Regions from separate parts of the Homo sapiens genome. Here all the other regions are linked to region 2. Evidence: promoter capture Hi-C in 16 types of primary human blood cells and fetal thymus (Javierre and others, 2016). All regions are on one chromosome and are shown on one strand. The core of a region is centred on a gene start or on the middle of the fragment in contact, and the rest is flanking DNA. Distances in the headings are between cores, read along the strand shown. Region 1 overlaps ELMO1 (engulfment and cell motility 1). Region 2 holds the start of SEPTIN7-DT (SEPTIN7 divergent transcript). Region 3 overlaps ELMO1 (engulfment and cell motility 1).

Region 1 (3,684 bases), core at 325-2,824, 1.6 Mb after region 2:
GCAATCTCAGCTCACTGTAAGCTCTGCCTCCCGGGTTCACTCAATTCTCCTACCTCAGCCTCCAGAGCAGCTGGGACTACAGGCACCCACTACCACGCCCGGCTAATTTTTTTTGTATTTTCAATAGAGACGGGGTTTCACCGCCTTAGCCAGGATGGTCTGGATCTCCTGACCTCGCAATCCACCCGCCTCGGACTCCCAAAGTGCTGGGATTAGAGGCGTGAGCCACCGCGCCCGGCCAATAGTAGCATTTTGAAAAGTTAAGTCAATAGCCGACAGAACTGCATCTGGTTCAACATTTGGAAATAGCATCTCCTGCAGGGGGTTAAACCAACAGTATTTTGTTAAAAGGAGATAGCTAAGTATTTCTTGTAGCCCTCTAGAACGTCGTCATCAGAATCCCTGGCAAGTTGGTTAAAAATGTAGTTTTCCCCAGAATTATTGAAACAGGCTTTTTAAAATCGTTACCTACACTGAGCAATACTTTGACATTAAGACTGGGTGTCTGTTTTATGAAATGCTGTTTTCCACACCACTCTTCTCTTTCACATTTTAAACTGCTGGTCTTGGCCTACTAAAGTGATATCATGATCCGCTCATGGGTTACAGCCGTAAGCTTAAAAAGCACTTCTCTGGTTGACTAGAAGGAACCAGAACTAAAGTTGCACAATTAGTAGCAAACACTCCAGGCTTTGTGATGCAGAGAGGGTTTCTTAATCCACCACGTTTTCCAGATTCAACAGAATGTCTTATAAACCAAACTATCTACTTGGATGGTTTCAGGCACCAAAAAGTGGTTACAAGCTTGAGTTACAAACCTTAATTGTATCCACTGTCTTAGATCTGGAAGGGAAATGTTACCTCCATAGGAATGATCACCTTTAACCCTTGAGCATTAGGCAACCTGATGAAGTAAGCACAGTGTGTGATCAGGTGAGCTCCTTGCCTCACCCCCAGCCACATCCTTCAGCAAAGGCTTCAAAGCCCTTTCCCCACCCGCCCCACCCACTCACACCAAACACCCAAAGGGGTTAAATTACTTTGAAACACTCAAGAGTTAGCTTCTTTTCAATATAGTAATTTAGTAAATGTTCAAGACTTAGCTGCACCTGCAGAACACCTTAATGTTTTCTCACTTTTATTTTTCTTCTCCTAGGCATTTCTCATCTCCCCTGCATCTGCCACACAGCCTCCCTTACAGCCTCCTGTCTTCACTTCCATATTGTAGGAGAGCAGAATGGGACACAGTAGATGCCTCTGACTTCAATCCCCTTACAATCATGCCCTTCCTCCTAGGCTAAAGCAACACAGACTTCTTTAAAAGACCTTCTCCAAGGAGAGTGATGAAACACCAGATCTGGAATGGTTATGTGTCATTAAGTGTACTGGTTATCTAATCTCCCAAGGAATCACCTCTCTGTTCCTTTCTTCAGGCAGAAAAAGGGAGGAGTCTACTCAAGGCAGAACAGAGTCTAAAAGAAGAGTGGCCTGGCATGGGGGAAAGGACAGCGAAAAAAGCAAAAGCCCATTACCTGGGCTTCTCACTTGCACTAATGCTGCAACATTTTCCTGGTATATTTCCCTGGTGGATCTCTCCCAGTATAGCCACCTCTCATTTAGTCAGTCAACAAACACTTATTGAGCACCGACATCATGCTAAGAATCCATCCAGGTTCTGGAGCTGTAAACAAGACAAGGTAGTCACTACCCTCATGGAACTTCTGCTCTAACAGGGAGAGAGACAATACTCAAAATACACCAATGACTGTATAATGCCAGGGAGTAAAAGGTACTAAGACAAAAAACTGAGTAACATAAGAGGCCCAGGGAGTGTCTGGCTGCTATTTTATATGGGGTAGCCAGGGAAGGCCCCCTATAAGCTGACAACTGGACAGAGACCTGAAAGAAGCAGGGGAAGTGAGTCATCTGGACATGTGGGAGAAAAGCTCCTCCTGTAATATCATGGGCAAAGGCCCTAGGGAGAGAACTCAGTGAAAAAGAAGAATGTAAGACGGTGAGGGTGCCTGCAGTTACCAAGGACAGTAAGCATGACCATCACTAGAACTGCCCATCTTCTTGCCCAATGACTGCTCCAGGCCCTGAGTTTCCCCAGACTCCCATCCGGGTCTGCCTCCGAGCCTGCCCCTCCCTGATACCTACCATACTTCTTGTTCTCCAGTTCAGTACCCTCCTGACACAACCCCTCCCCAAGAGTCCCAGCAGTCCAGGTCATTTTCTCAAAATTTACCAACCTAATAAAAACAAACAAAACAGAGTAGAAACAAGGCAGCATGCACATTTAACCACAGCCTTCCAGAGATAGGAAATGTACAATAATAAAGAGTAAAGCTTCAAAAGGTCAGCTATAAGAAAAATTAAAAATATGTGATGTTTCTGCAGGGGATCTGGCCTCCTAACTTACCATTATTTTCCCCCAGATCTGTAAATTATGGGACATTAATGCTTGAAACAACCTTGGAAAGTAGGCATGGAGGTGAGATAATATGAGAACCCTGGCCAGAGGAGACCCCAATAATAGCTGCTGCCGGTTTTTGCAATCTCAAAGTGATTCTGAGAAGGATTATATCCCTCTATGTCCCAAAGTTGCTCGCAGGGTTTTGGTGTGTAAATACAGGTCATTAATTACTTTTATAGAAGCAAAAGAGAAACACTCAGATATTCTTCCATAGCTTCATCCCCAAGTCACTGGCAGCGCCCAACAGGAAGCCTCCGCTTCTGGAGGCCTCAACCCGTCTTAGATTATCTGAAATCTTAACCATAACGAATTAGGCCCGAATCATTCAAGGCCAGCGGTGTTGGGAAGCCCATGATCCAGCGCGGGGGGCATCCCAAATATATTCACTGAGTCTCGGGAGCCGTCCAGGGACTCTCAGAGCTGGGTCACTACCTGGGACCAAGCCTGAGGCTGGTCCTTTAGGTCAAGGCAGGTCCCGACCCGCCTCCAACTTCAAATGGCCCCCTAGGCGGGAGAGGGTCACTGGGCGGGGAGTTCCTGGCTGTGCGGTCACACACACACACACCGACTCACACACACACCCACAACACCCCCCCCACACACACACACTCACACACACACCGACGACACACCACACACACATACATACGCGCGCGCGCACACACCACACACACACACACACACACACACACACACACACGCCGCCTCGCGCGCGCTCGCGGCACAGCACCGACTTCCCAACCCCAAACACACGCGCGCACCCCCGGGACAGCTGAGTTCTGTATTTCCTCTTCCTCAAAGCGACTCCGGCGATCGCAGTCGCCACTCTCCGCTCCGATTCCCGGGCCCCCTGGCATGCCGCCGCCCCCTTCTCTGAAGGCGCGCCCGGTGCGTCCCCTCTCCGAAGCCGAGATTTCCACGAAGCTCCACAAAGCTCCCCGCCGCCTCTCTCGGTCTCGGCGGAGACCCCGGTGTGTCCCCGGGAGGAGAGTATTTACTAACCAGAACCTCAGGGGCTCCCGGCTGCCCAGACCGCCCTCTCCGGCCCTCCTGGCCCCCATTCCTCTGGCCCATCACCGCCCCCTCCCACGAGCGCGCTCGCCGGGGGATTCCCTCCCATCCCCGAGTGCAGGAGAAGACGCCGAGTCTGAGCCGCAGCCGCTTCTCTAGCTCTATAGGAATCTTGACTCCAAGATCCCAGCCCCACA
Region 2 (3,825 bases), core at 480-2,979:
ATACCCATTAAGAGATCTTCCTCAAAGAAATATTATCAATAGAGATGGGAGGCAAAGATTTACTTCCTTTAGACTATTAGGTTATATTAATATAAGTATTTGCTTTAATTTTATATTTTAAAATAATCTATATTTAGGTAATATTTACTAAGCATTGACTAAGCACCGTGTTCATGTATTAGTCTATTTAACTCTTATCAAAATCCTGTTAGATAAGTATTATCTCCGTTTATAGATGAGGAAACTGGATCACAGGAAAGTTTAAGTAACTTGTTCTTGGTTGCAAGCCTAATAAATGGAGAGCTGGGATTTGAACTCAGGCAGTCTGACTCCGGAGGCTATATACATTTACCCTCCTTGGTACACTGCTTTTTTTCAAAAATAGAAATTCAACAAAATTTCCCAAAGTAAAAGTTCATTTGAAGTTTCAGAAACTTAAAACAATGATTGAACAGATAAGTTGCAACAGACTTCATAAGCAGTTCAGTAAAAATGTAGACTTACGAAATGGCATATATCAAGATACAAAATAAGTTGCTTCTATAAGTTTCTTTTCTTAAAAAAAATTACTTGGAAATATTTCAAGTATATAGAACAGTAAAGGAAATAATTACAAGTGAACACCCATGTGCCCTCTACTTAGCTTAATGTTTTGCCACATTTTCAAGATATTTCTGGTAGAAAACAAACGTTATAGATACAAATGAACCCTTCTTGTTACATTCCCTTCTGTTCATCTCTGGAAGCAACCAGTATTCTGAATTTGGTATCTATCATTTCCTTATACAATTTTTAGTTTGATCTTACTTTTTTGTAATTATTAAACTTTTATTTATGGTATGTCATATATATCTTTCCGCAACCTGTCTTTTCATTTCTTCCTCAATATTAGGTTAATGACTCTATCCATATGAAAAATGGTAGCTTTAGTTCACTGATTTTTTGGTTCGTGTTGTATGTCAATTTGTTCAACAATGACACTTATTCATCCATTCTCCTATTAGTAGACATTTATTGTTTCACTAATATAAGCTATTTTGCTCTGAACTTTCTTGCACGTGCCTATAACTTAAAAATACACATACTTTTTTAAAACATGCAGTTAAACAGGAACATACACATTTCTTTAACATGTAGTTAAACAGGAAAAGTAACACATGTGCATGAAGAATACAACCAAGAGAGCCATCACGTTCAAGAAAAGACCACAGGTTATTCCGAGTGAAGTAAGGCTTTCACTAGAAGGCACTTGGGGAACGTTCCAATGACAGCGACATTCATCGCTACAGTAGAAACTCACACAATCGCAGCCCTTTATTAGTATTTTGTTACCCAGTAGTTCCTGTGTCCATTCATTTCCTCAACTGGAGTGTGAGCTCCAAGAGGACCGAACCGGGCACCGACAAGGTGAGCCAATATGAATGTGGCGAGTCCGCAATGGGGGCTACAGCGGCCGACCTCTGGGGCTGTGCCAGGCCACTAGAGTGTGATGGCGCGAGGGAAGGGTCGGGGAAACAGGGCCTAACCTCACTTTTCACCCCGAAAGTCAAGATAGCCACGGAAACAGGGATGAATGGGGAGCACAGACACCTGCCTCGAAGTGTCTCTTCACTTTCACTCACAAAGCCGTCGGGTCAGTAACCAGAAGCCGAGGGGCGGATGCGGCCCCCGCCCTGTGGCACTTTCTCAGTCTGGTTCTTCCAGCCGCGCCTCTTTGCCTTACGCCAATTCCGTAAGGAGGCGCTGAGGCCAACTGGCCGGCTCCCGCAGCTCCAAAACTTGACGTGAAATTGCGCGGGGCAGAGCTGACTGCGGCCATCTTTAATTCGGGCAAGACCCCACCCTCGCACCCCACCCACTAGTCCTTTTCAGCGTTCCCAGGATTTTCTCCAACAAATGTAACGCGGTTAACCTTAGAAGCAGTGTTGAAGAAACACGCAAAGAGGCCTGAGTATCCATGACCTCAGTGGTGCGAAACCCGGCCAACTTAAACATGGCGGCTAAACCCGAACAGCAAAACGTTGCTGACGCCAATGAAGTCATGCTCGAAATGGAGCGAGGCGGCGGAGCTGGGGAGGCGGTAATCTCGCGAGATGGAAGCCAGCCTCCGCTAGGCCCGGAAGCCTCGTCTGAGGGGGCGGGGGACGGAGGAGGGAGCGGGAGTCGAGCGAGAGCCTGTGGAGGAGTCCGCCTGCTGTAGCGTGCGTAAGCAAGGCAGCTACGCCGGGCGGCTACGCTGCGGAATCGGCGTAGGCGCCTTTGGAGAATCGGCGGGCTGCGCTCCGCTGGGGCTGGTCGCGGAGGGGGGGAGGGGATGTCGGTCAGTGCGAGATCCGCTGCTGCTGAGGAGAGGAGCGTCAACAGCAGCACCATGGGTGAGTCTCAGCTTCGGGTGCCGCGACTTGGGGTCAGCGGCTCCGAATGCCGGGAAGCTCTGCGGCCGCTGGACCGAGCTAGGGAACGCCCTGAGGCGAGGCGGAGGCAGCGGCGAGGGGAGCCGGGATGGGGGCCACTGCGGGCCCGGGGCGCGGCAGCGGCGGGCTCGGGGGGAGGGGAGGCGGCGGCGGTGACAGTTTGAATTGAACGTGAGGAGAGCCGAGGCGGCGGCATTTCCTGTGCCGCGGCGGGCTGGCCCCCGGCGCAGAGCCGCGGCCTCCGCGGCCGGAGCAGCCTGAGCGTGGTGGTCTCAGCCCTGCCCTTGCTTCTCTCCGTCCCTTCGCCTTTCCTCAGTCTCCTCCCGGGCCCGCCGGCTTCCGCGGCCCCGCTTCCTCCTGTCCCCGGCCGCATCCCCGTCGGCAGAAGTCCCCTCGTGGGGCAGTGGGCCTGGCTAGGAGGGTGGGGACGAGTGTGAACGCTCGGGCGAGGGTGCTGTGTGGGCCAACCCGGGCGGGCGGCGGCGGGGAGGGAGGAAGAAGGATGCACCAGGCTGAGGCTGTGGTGGAGGCGGCGGCGGCGGCTGCAGCCGCAGCTCCAGTCACCGCGTCGCCTCCCCGCTCCTCCTCCCGCCTCTCGGGGTTGCCTCTCTCCAGGCGCAGCCCGGAAGGCCGGTGGATGGCGGGCGAGTCTTGAGAACGGAGGGAGAATCGGTAGTTTGGTTTGGAATTTGGGCTTAATTTTTAGGAGTAAGGGAAAGAGAACGCCTGGGAAGGGCGCCCCCCGGAGGAGATAGAAAGGGTGGGAAGGGTCCTTGGAAAAGGGAGGGAGCGGAGATGTGGAGTGGCGAAGTTTAGGGAAATTAATTTTTGAAAATATTTCAATATTCTCAGTTATTCTCTTAACGAGCCCTTTCATTTCCTTTCCTCCCCCACATGTTGGAAAAAGAACAGGCCATTTCATTTACATTTTCCACTCCTGAGTTCCATTTCAGCTGTGTGTATAGTAAGAAATAAGCAACCGAGATTTTTCTAGGACATTTCCATTTGCTGAGTTACTTTTGAAGAGTACACTGTTTCAAATTTGGGTTTTTACAGTCCTAGGAAAGAATTTGTGACGTCCAGGTGTTTTCTTAGTTACTGAAATAATAACTTACTACATTTCTTGAGTTTATTGCTAAATAGTTCAGCTTTAAGAATTCTTTCTTCTGGCTTTTTTATTTTGATGAAAGGAAAAAATATCTTTGTTAGTGCCCCTGAGAATGTAAATGAACAGATCATCTAAATTACTAAGCATCTAACCTGTTTTACATATTTATGCACATGCAGGTGATGAGTATAGTCAGTTTTTCCCCCTAAAGTTTATGTGCAGACATGGGGAGGAGAGTATTTTAGACTTAAAAGTGTACAGGTAGGGATGAAATTTATGGAATCCTGATAGACTGAAGGGGGG
Region 3 (4,028 bases), core at 852-3,351, 1.6 Mb after region 2:
TTGTATTGTGGTTATTTGTGTGTCTGTCTCATCTCCCTGACCAGACTGAAAGACCAGGAAGGCTAAGGAAGTCTTGTTCAACTTTGAATCCACAGAAAATACCTTACACATAGTGGGCTTTTGGTTGATTTACTGAACAAAAGAAGAAAATACCAGTTGGTACAACCTGGCAAGCAGGACAATCACCAAATGAACCAAACTGTCTGAAGATATTTTTCACTTCTCAGAAGAAATCCCCTTGGCCAAAAATGAGCATCCAGGTAACATGCAAAGTATGCCCTTAGCTCTCTTTTTCTTGCCATCTAAAGTTCCAGCATGTCACTCAGGAAAACACCCTTCAGCACTTTCCTTTTTTGGGGGCAGTTGTGGGGGAGACAGAGTCTTGCTCTGTCACTCAGGCTACAGTGCAGTGGCGTGATCTCAGCTCACTGCAACCTCTGCCTCCTGGGTTCAAGCAATTCTTGTGCCTCCGCCGCCCAAATAGCGGGGATTACAGGCGCACACCACCACGTCTGGCTAATTTTTGTATTTTTAGTAGAGATGGGGTTTTGTCACGTTGCCTATTCTGGTCTGGAACTCCTGGTCTCAAGTGATCTGCCTGCCTCGCCCTCCCAGAGTGCTGGGATTAGGGATGTTAGCCACCACACCAGGCCACTTCAGCATGGCAAGAACAGAGGGAAACTGTGAAGTAGCAAAGTGAAAAGGTATATGACAGAAGTCAATTTACCTCCACTTTAATATCAAAATAATATTTTAATATAATTAATATCATTTAATATCAAAATAATATTGAGTGAATGATTCCATAATGAATCATGGAATTCATTTGAATGATTCATTCCATTCATTTTCCACTAAGAAAATTAGAAAACATTATTTGATATTAGCAGCCAACATCCATATCTTATCAGGTCTGTGGGATTGGTAATGGGAAATTGAAATATGCTAAACAGTACCTCTTAGTATCCTGCTGGAAAATCTTTCTATGTTTAGGGACAACTACAGAAATATTCACCAAAAATATCCGAGGGGGAAAACCCCTGTACATTACATGTAGAATATTAACACCTACAAGGTGGAGAAGAGAGAGGACGGATAAATTCATTAATCTAAATTAAGCATATCCAGGTCACTGGCTATGGTGGATACTTGTTGGGGCACACATACACCAAGTCACTCTTCTTAAAAATTATCTAATGTTTGTTCTGGCATTCTCTGATCGCCACCCTGCTGGTGTGTTGGGGGAATCTGCCCTGTGGCCAACTCCAAAGTCCAATCCTGTTTGGCAGAGACAGAAAAAAAGAAACCCTAAATGACCCAGAGAGTGGCTGAATCAATCTAATTCTGTAACTCACCATACCTCTAATCTTTTCAATGATATAAGCTTTTATTGTTTAAGCCAGTCGGCATTCAATTTTCTGTTTCTTACCATCAAAGTCATTCTACCTGCTGCATTGGAAAAATCTACCACACATCCCTGGGTATGTTACAATGAACCTTTCCCTGTGGGAATAAAACAAGAGCAAATAAAGAAGTAAACGCTGGGCAGGAACATTGCAAAAACACTAATAATCCTTTTTTTTCTTCCTGCAGACTGCAATGCACGTAGCTTGCAGTAAAAATCTTGAGAAATATCTAAAGCCAAAAAAGCTATTTAATGGTTTAAACCAGTTATCTAAGTTGATTTGACCTTGGTATTACCAATTACACAAAACCAAGTAATATCCTACCTTCTGACATACATACTTTGGGGCCTTGGTACTCATCTTCATGGCAAGTAAGCTGATTCTTAGTTATATGCATACAAAGCCTGTTAATTTTTAAATCCACACTCATTTCTCTTGCAATCTGGAGCCTTGTTGGAATATCTCTCACTGCTTTCAGCTACTGCCTGAGCAAATTAGCATGCATGTACTCCTGAACAAAATAGATTGAGCAAAGCGAATCTGTGGCTTCCAAAGTTATGTTACGTGAAAATACAGAGGTCTTTGGAATCACTGAAAAGTTCTGGGCTGTATGTGCATTTCTGTCTTCAAATGCAAAGATGTCCCTACATCTTCAACATCAAGAGTGTAGGGTTTAAGAGCATAGTTCCAGAGTCAGAGACTACGTGAGTTCAACTCTTGGCTCTACCACTTTTAAATTGTGTCGACTTGGCAAGTTTATTTCCCCAGTCTCAAGTCCTTATTATAAAATGTGAGTTATGATAGACAGTATGTAAAGTCTAGCGTGGATATAAAAATTTAATGATCGTAATAATAATTCATATAAAGCAGGCAGCACAGTACCTGGCACATAATAAAGGTACAACAGATGTTTCTTGCTGTGATTGTAATATCTGCAATTGATACTGGAAAAGAAAATAATTAATGCATGAAAAAATGTATCTTCCCAAAGATATATCAGGGCTTCAGGGAAAAGAAACGTGAATTAAAGTAATAATAACTCTCAATATAAAGTGAGTGGATCCAACTTAAAGTTAAACATTAATTCTTGATTATTTGCTTTGGGAAGAGGAAGGAACAGAGTACATTAAAAATAAATAATACCCCAACAACTCATAAACCCAATAACTACAGCACAGCTTCAACATGTCTTAGAACAAAATTCCCAAAACAACAAGAGACCCATGTACAAATTAAGTTAAAAACATATTCCATAATGAAATCTACAGTCCTAAAAACCAGCATTTCAGATTATCAGTAACATTAAATGAGCATACAAATTCAAACCTGTGTTTTCAGATTTGCGGCTGACCTACAACAGAAATAAATGAACTAACTAGAGATAACTCCTTTATTGGGCTTCCATCTAAAGCTAAGCTTTACTTAGGCTTTCAAATTGTTGCACTTACTTCCTAAATCAGATATGCCACCAAAACTGCCCACTTTTGTCAACTGTCAGGAAAACTGACAATACGAAGTTCACAAAGACGAAGCAGGGAAGAAAATAGCAATTTGACTTGCAGTCCACTCTCAGGTTTTAACCGTATGGAAAATTTTATATACACATATATTTTCCAAAGTTATGGAATATGGTTTAGAATCTCAGGAATCCCATTCTCACTGAATAATTAAACTGGGAGAATGAGAGGTTTCACACCATGACAATGCCACTATCAGAACTTACTGAACCCCAGAAAGGACCTATGGCCACCTCACCCAGAGGAGCAGGCTTGTCCATGCACACGCACAGACCACAGTATGAATGATGCCCCTGGAACTGGATAATGCATAATCTCCATTTCTTAGATTCCCGCCCTAAAAGGAGGGCCACATTTGCTTACAACAGCTCAAGGCCTAGATTCTCTGGAATTTTCCCAAGAGAGTTATTTTGCATTTGCTTACAATTTGAAAGCCTAAGTAAAGCTTAGCTCTAGATGGAAGCCCAACGAAGAAAGTATCTCTAGTTAGTTCATTTATTTCTGTTATAGGTCAGCTGCAAAGAGTAGCATAAGAGATTTTAATCAAGCAAATACTTGGAGCAAAATTAGTGCTGACAACAATCTTGTAAGCAAAATTTGTGTGCAGGTGAGTCAGAATGTGTTTTGTGGCACTGAAAGAGTTAACCACCTGTCCTATCAACAGTGTTTACTTTTGTGTTTGGCTCATTCACTTCCTCAGTTTCTCCACAAACCTAGCTTATGAAATCAAATGACTGCAAGCAACTAGCTGTAAAAGCTAAACCCCTACTGAGCACTTTCTATGAGCGTGATACTCTGCCAAGCATGATTTCATTTAATTCTCTCAACGATCCTAGAAGAGGGCACCGTTTTACAGCCAAGGAAACTGAGGCACAGAAGTTTTGCTGGTGGACACACCACTGAAGAGGGGATAGAAAGACTGGACCAGAGGCAGCTGTTATGCATGGAAAGGCGTCCCCTGAGAAAGACACGTTGAAGTCCTTTCCTGCTATCTGTGAATGTGACCTTATTTGGAAATAGGTCTCTGCAGACATAATCAAGTTAAAACGAGGTCATTTGGGCAGGTGCTAACCCACTAGGACTGTTATCTTTATAAAAAGAGGAA

What was found. The method cuts DNA at HindIII sites, captures the fragments that hold promoters and counts their contacts. A CHiCAGO score of 5 or more calls a contact.
Region 1: a fragment that was not itself captured here is called in contact with the fragment with the promoter of SEPTIN7-DT in region 2 in 1 of 17 cell types (fetal thymus); the score reaches 9.0 in fetal thymus.
Region 3: a contact is called between a fragment that was not itself captured here and the fragment with the promoter of SEPTIN7-DT in region 2, in 1 of 17 cell types (activated CD4 T cells). The highest score is 5.9, in activated CD4 T cells.

What each region holds. Positions count from the first base shown.
Region 1 is chr7:37,444,574-37,448,257 of GRCh38, forward strand. The region is part of intron 1 of ELMO1 (engulfment and cell motility 1); the gene reads right to left. Among named protein-coding and RNA genes, the nearest start is that of ELMO1, 2.4 kb to the right of the region's middle. The HindIII fragment of the contact is 1,545 bases long and covers 803-2,347 here.
Region 2 is chr7:35,798,896-35,802,720 of GRCh38, forward strand. SEPTIN7-DT (SEPTIN7 divergent transcript) reads right to left here and starts at 1,730. Exons shown (of 5, transcript NR_120512.1): 1 at 1,595-1,730. SEPTIN7 (septin 7) reads left to right here and starts at 2,162. Exons shown (of 14, transcript NM_001788.6): 1 at 2,162-2,375. The coding sequence starts at 2,315. RefSeq lists enhancers at 1,394-1,453, 1,576-2,199, 1,814-2,203 and silencers at 2,354-2,593, 2,624-3,073. The HindIII fragment of the contact is 5,766 bases long and covers 1-3,825 here.
Region 3 is chr7:37,413,325-37,417,352 of GRCh38, forward strand. The region is part of intron 1 of ELMO1 (engulfment and cell motility 1); the gene reads right to left. Among named protein-coding and RNA genes, the nearest start is that of ELMO1, 34 kb to the right of the region's middle. The HindIII fragment of the contact is 1,438 bases long and covers 1,383-2,820 here.